Regions from separate parts of the Homo sapiens genome. Here region 1 is linked to region 2. The links are contacts of gene promoters, found by promoter capture Hi-C in human tissues and cell types (Jung and others, 2019). All regions are on one chromosome and are shown on one strand. Each heading gives the region's core, a stretch centred on a gene start or on the middle of the fragment in contact. The rest is flanking DNA. Distances are from core to core; before and after follow the strand shown. Region 1 overlaps HELB (DNA helicase B). Region 2 holds the start of IRAK3 (interleukin 1 receptor associated kinase 3).

The links. The method cuts DNA at HindIII sites, captures the fragments that hold promoters and counts their contacts. A contact is called where the count stands out against the background at its distance.
Region 1: a contact is called between a fragment that was not itself captured here and the fragment with the promoter of IRAK3 in region 2, in 1 of the 25 tissues and cell types used here (stomach).

What each region holds. Positions count from the first base shown.
Region 1 is chr12:66,336,093-66,339,280 of GRCh38, reverse strand. HELB (DNA helicase B) reads right to left here. Exons shown (of 13, transcript NM_001370285.1): 13 at 1,082-1,280. The coding sequence ends at 1,179. Among named protein-coding and RNA genes, the nearest start is that of HELB, 35 kb to the right of the region's middle. The HindIII fragment of the contact is 6,484 bases long and covers 1-3,188 here.
Region 2 is chr12:66,187,329-66,190,549 of GRCh38, reverse strand. It overlaps IRAK3 (interleukin 1 receptor associated kinase 3), which reads right to left and starts at 1,336. Exons shown (of 12, transcript NM_007199.3): 1 at 1,118-1,336. The coding sequence starts at 1,250. RefSeq lists silencers at 1,002-1,161, 1,182-1,231. The HindIII fragment of the contact is 8,386 bases long and covers 1-3,221 here.

The DNA.
Region 1 (3,188 bases), core at 393-2,892, 150 kb before region 2:
AGTTGTCCAATTTGATGAATATACTAAAAGCCACTGAATTATATACTTAAAATGGGTGAAATGTATGTGAATTATATCTCAATAAAGCTATTAACCATTTATGCCTGAGGTTGCAACTTTCTGAATTTTTGCAATCAGACGTTGGTGAGGACTTTGAGCAGTGGGATATAAATAACTCTCACATGTTTAGTGTCCCAATAATGGACCACTAGGCATAAATGGGTTAACAGATATATTTTTCATCTTGACTTTTTCTTTTACCATTTAACATAAATAAAAATTTAAAAATCAAATCATTCTGAGAGAGAAAAAACCTTCCTAAGTGGAACATATTCAAAACAATGTGCTCCCAACTCAGAAAGCACTTCCAAGGAAAAGTCCCAGGTAGGCTGGGCCCCAGGCAGCAGTGATGAAGTGAGCAGCAGTCTTGTAAAATGACCACATTTCAACATCCTAGGAGGCATGTCAATAACATCAACAGATGTAATTACACCTTTTCTTTGCCACTGCTTCAACCCATTGGCAAAGGTAACACACAACGATCATCAAAGTTACGAGGCATTATCCTAAAAATACAATGTTTTAATGTACATAATTGTTTGTTTTTTTTTGTTTGTTTGTTTGTTTGTTTTTTTTTTGGAGACGGAGTCTCGCTCTGCCACCCAGGATGGAGTGCAATGGTGCAATCTCAGCTCACTGCAACCTCCGCCTCCCGGGTTCAAGCGATTCTCCTGCCTCAGCCTCCTGAGTAGCTGAGATTACAGGCATGTGCTACCACACCCATATAATTTTTGCATTTTTAGTAGAGATGGGGTTTCACCATGTTGGTCAGGCTGGTCTCAAACTCCTGGCCTCTGGTGATCCACCTGCCTCAGCCTCCCAAAGTGCTGGGATTACAGGCATGAGCCACCGTGCCTGGCTTAATGTACATAATTGTATAAAAATATATATGTATATAAAATATCTAATCTCTTCACTTATGTCCAGTGCTACCAGTTCTCATGATGACGTGTTGAAATCATTAATACTTTGATGAAATGGATTTAAAACATTTGCTAACACAAATACCTTAAAACTCCAGTTATAGGAAACTTTTTTTATCTTGGTACTTTGACGTTACGATGTTCATTTTGTCTCCAATAGAAAAACATAGTTACTCGGAACAATTTGAAATAAAACTAAGTTTCTTGATTATCGGTGGGCTTGAAAAGTTGCCTGGGAATTAAATTATTCAGTCTCAAATTCTGAAGTCTGGAAGACACTTGTGGAGATTCTCCCACCTGTTAGAACAATTAAAATAACAAAGTTAATTTTGTAAAAATGTAGTTAGTCTACCCTACGTACTTGTATTCCCTCTGCTTCAGAAAAAGAAATCATGCACCTTCCCCAACCCTTGAAAGGCTTCAGCAACCAAAGCAATTGGCTATCAGCTCCTTGTAGGATCACATCTGCTTTGCTCACTGTGGTATCTCTAGCACCCAGCTCTGGGTCTGGCATTTAGAAGTAACTATGTACTGAATTAGTATGTGTGTCTAACTTCTAAAGGTGTAGACAGGGCCCACTACATAATTTGGCAGCCCAGTCCAAAATTAAAATGATGGCCCCTTGTTCAAAATTAAGAATTTCAAGATGGTGATTACAGAACTTTTTTTTTTTTTTTTAAGTGTGGGCCTGAGTCCTGGAGGACTGCCCATGTTGCCTGCCCATGAAGTCAGTTCTGGATGTGTAAGATAAAACATTGCAATGCCACAGTCATATTCTTTGTGCTACTAATGATTCTGAAGTGGGCCAGTATCGTCATGATGAAGTTTCACCACCATAAAGAAATGAAAAGAGTAAGCACAATTCAATTTTAGGAAAAGGGTCTTTCTTTGGAATTGCCTCTCTTTTCTGCTCATGTCAAAAGCCTTATTCCAGGACCTCTGTAAGAGATGACAAGTTTAATTTCAGAAAAAGATATTTTCCTGAGATGGAAATTCTATCAAAGAGTTGACCTGGGGTACAAAATGGAACCTAGAATCAGCAGGGATTCTACTGTCCAAGAGGGGAAAAAGAAGAAACTTCCCCCTCCACCCTCAACTATGTCCATTTTACTCACTTTTCCCACAAAACCTGACCCTCAGACTCTTTTCCCAATCTGATTAATGGTGCTGGATCCACCTGTATGCCTTAGCCAGAAGTCTTGGAGTTATCCTCAGGCCCAACCCCACCTGAATCCAACTGATCATTAAGTCCCATCAGCTCTATCCTTAGCATCTCTTCTCCAACCCCATTGCTACTACCTAATGTTAGAACCTCCTCATTTTACGCAGGTTACTGAAATAATCTTTTGGCTGAGAACTCATTCCCTACTCTCTCCCTAACCATCATCATCCACTAAACCTCAGTCAATATCACCATCATAAATTTCAATTCACAGAGTACTTAAAATGCTTCTACTGTTCTCAGTTGCAATCAGAAGAATCTACGACCTCTTCAGAAGACCCTGTGTCCATCCTCCCTGCCAGTTCCTGTGTCTGCAGCCCATCCTCTCACTGTGCCCTGTGCTCCAGCCATGCTGTTCTACATCTGTAGTCTCCTAATGTGCCAGGACTCCACACACCGTGCCCTGTGTCAGACCGACTCCTAGAGAACGTTTTCCCTGTGCCATATCCATATGGGGACAGAGGATATAAGTATTCCCCATTTACAACTCAGCCTGGTTCTGGCAGGTTACACCAGCACTTTCTCCCCTGGGTTCCCCCTGTGGCCCCTTCTTACCTTTATTACAGCCTTGGAAGCTTAAAGACTCAACTGAACAAGTCTGCTGCCAGCACTTAAAGCAATTCTTACACTTCTATTAGAACCACATTTGGAAATTACTTATAATCCCACCTTTTTTTTTCTTTTTAACACAAAATCCATTACCCAAATTGGATCCTCTAACTCATAAAACCAGAAAGCAAATGCCTTTGGGTTATTTCCTAAACTCAGAATAGGTCTCAACAGAAGTTTGCTTCCCTTATAAACATTCAAAAGGATCTTTTACTGCCTCAAAAGCAATTCCAAAAGGAACTGTCAAACTAAAGGAGGGGCACTAGAAGAATAAAAGTATGACTTTCAGTACAACCTGAAAGAACAATATTCTGAATGTCTGATTTTTTAAAAAAAAGTTTCATCGCCATATATTCATGACTCATATTTTGATC
Region 2 (3,221 bases), core at 87-2,586:
TCTTTCTCAAAGTCAGTAACTCTAGGAAATCAACGGGTATAAATACTGTCCACGCCAAAATCCATCTCAAAAAGATCTGATGGGGAAGTGACCTTATCCCTCAAAATCCCTCAAATGCACACTGGAAATCTCGTTTTCTAGAAATCAGACTTTTTTTTTTTTCTTAAGGGCCATAACTTAAAATTACAGAGCTTAAAATATATAAACATTTTTTGTATAACCAGAAGCCCATTGCTACAATTCAAAGACTGTCACCATACTGTTCATCAGTAACAAAGAAAACTCTCCTCTTAGGCCTTCTGCTAGTCCTGGTAAGAAAAATCCTATTTCAGACCATTAAAGCTAAGTTATTTTGACATAATCATGATTCTTTTCAATAAACATTAAACATGACATTGTGGAATATCAAATCTAACCAAAAATGCCTGTACTTAACAAAACGAAGATTTTTGTCCGAATTATCTCTGGCTACACTCAACACTTCCAGCAGGCAGTTGCTCAACTTTCCAATGTCTGCATAAAATACAGTTCTGAAGCCAATTTTTTTAGATTAAAATAAAAAGCCACCCTTTAGCATAAACCTTCATTCAACGAAATTGGGTAAATAAGATTTAATTAAGAAAATTAGGAGCCGCGTTCATTGCAAACCGTAGTTTACTTTAGCATTTCACTTGTAATTAAGTTAGGGGCTTAGGGATGCATTGAAAACACCAAAGGATAAGTATCTCAAAGTTCTAAAAATGTCTCAATACTAAAATGATGTTCTGGGGTGATTTTGCAAGGACCAGAAGACATCATACATTGCGAACCCAGTGAGGGTGGCATCGCGGACGAACAGAAGATGCTTTCACGCTGGTTATCTGTCTTTCCCAGGCCTCGGCTCCCTTGACTTTGCAGCGATACCCAAAATTCTTTGAAAGAGAAGGGAGGGAAGGCATCTGGGTCCCAGGGAGTCTCTGCATCCAACCCAGGAAAGGAGGGGGCCGGCTCCCTGGCGGGAACTTCCCGGAGGCCGCGCCAGCCCCGCGAGGGACCCCAGCCATGCAGGGCGACGCCGAGCGGGCCCCGCGGCGCGCTGGGCTCCCCCGCCGCCCCCGGCCGGTCCCCGCCGACTCACCCAGGCCGCGCCAGCCCAGCGCGCCGTCGCAGCTGTCCAGAACAGCGCAGAGCTCTCCGAGCAGCGCGGGCGGCAGGTCGAACAGCAGCGTGTGCGCCGACAGCGCGCCGCGGGCCCCACAGTTCCCCGCCATGGCTCGGCTGCCCGAGCCCCGGGGACGAGGCGGAGTCCAGGTCCCTGCACGCCTGCGACAGGCCGTTACACAACCGCGGAAATCCTGCTTCCACGACGGCAGCAGAGCCCTAGGAACACGCCGTTCTCCGGTCACTGCAGGGGCGGTGCCCACGTGACGCAAGGCGCGCCTCGCCCGAGATGCCCCTGCGTCCGCCTGGCCAGGCCTGGGGGTTACCCGACCCGGGTTCTCCCTTCGCTGGCTTTGCGCCCCTTCACACCTCTGCGGTGGGGACGGAGCTGCCGAGACAAGCAGAGTGCGAACTGGAGAAAGCCCAGAGCTCAGAGCTCCCAGGAGCCCACCGTGCCCCACGGCTAGGCGGTCTCCTGGTGTGGACGGCTAGCGGTGTCATTACTTCTTACAAAAGTTTATTTTTGAAAGCTTCTCCCTTCCTTCCTTCTTCCCTTCCTTTCTTTTCTTCCTTTTTTCTTTGTTTTGAGTCAGGTTCTCACTCTGTCGCCCAGGCAGGAGCGCAGTGGCGCTATCTCAGCTCACGGAGCCTCCACCTATTGGGCTCAAGCGATCCTCCCACCTCAGCCTCCCGAGTAGCTGGGACCACAGTCGCACGCCACCACGTCCGGCTAATTATTTTTTTTCGTTTTTCGTAGAGAGGGAGTGTCGTTATGCTGCCCAGGCTGGTTTCAAACTCCTGGCCTCAAGCGATCCTCCCACCTCCGGCTTCCCAAAGTGCTGGGATTCGGGGTGTTAGCCACTGTCCCGGACTACTTCTTTTTTATCCTGTCAGAAAAACTATCCATGTTCATCGAGGAACACTTGGAAAACCCAGAAAAAAACTGAAAAAAGAAGATAATCACTCACAACCCCACTCAGCCCATCACACTCTAAAAGTTTTGACACATTTTCCTCCCAACTTTTACTGAATTTAAACAGATAAAAATGTACATATATGGGATTATTATTGGAAAAGATGAATGTAGATACCAACAAGAGAAAAACAGAAAAGACACCAAATCAGCGTAAAATTATGTTCGTTTTCTTCACGAGGCGGCCTCTCCTCCATACACCTACTTGGTTTTAATAAATTTTCTTCCTCATGGGCTTCCTTGATGAAATATCGTTCCATCATTTTTTCCTTCCTCAAAGTGCTTCACACAATCTTCCTTTTTGCCTTCAACATGGAGTTTAAGTAAAATTGTTGTTTTGAAATCTTCACGGAGTTTAAGTAAAATTGTTGTTTCAAAATCTTCTAGGTCACATGAGGCATGTTACCAGTGACAAAAAGTTGTTTTGAAAGTGGTGAGAAAAATCTCAGCCTTAGTGACTGGAAGAGTGGGCAGTGGCCATCAAGTGAAAACACCAGAGGTGTTTTGAAACCTCTCAGATTGTAGTCTTTGGAATAGCTGCCCCTAGAGATCACGAGTGATGAAACACTATCATTTCATGCCCCTACCTGAATGGTTTTGCCAGCGAAAATACTTCATAAAAATGTATCTGAAAACTGGCAAAGCCCATACTGTGTGGGCAAGAATTTCGATATCCCGTTGTTCAAGGTTTTATTGTCAATCTGTACACACTGTACACCTACCTACCTTCCTTCCTTCCTTCCTTCCTTCCCTCCTTTCTTCCTTCCTTCCCTCCTTTCTTTCTTATTTGTTTTTTTTAGTCGCTCTGATTGCCCAGGTTGGGGTGCAATGGTGCGATCTCGGCTCACTGCAACTTCCACCCCCTGGGCTCAAGCCATCCTCCCACCTCAGCCTCCAGTACAGCTGGGACTACAGGTGCATGCCACCATGCCTGGCTAACCTTTGTAGTTTTTGTAGAGACGGGGTTTTCCCATGTTGCTCAATCTGGTCTCAAACTCCTGGGCTCAAGTGATCCACCTCCCTAGGCCTCCCAAGGTTCTGGGATTACAGGCATGAGCCACCACACCCGGCCCTCTATACATCTCTTAAAGGGACTACCTGAACATGC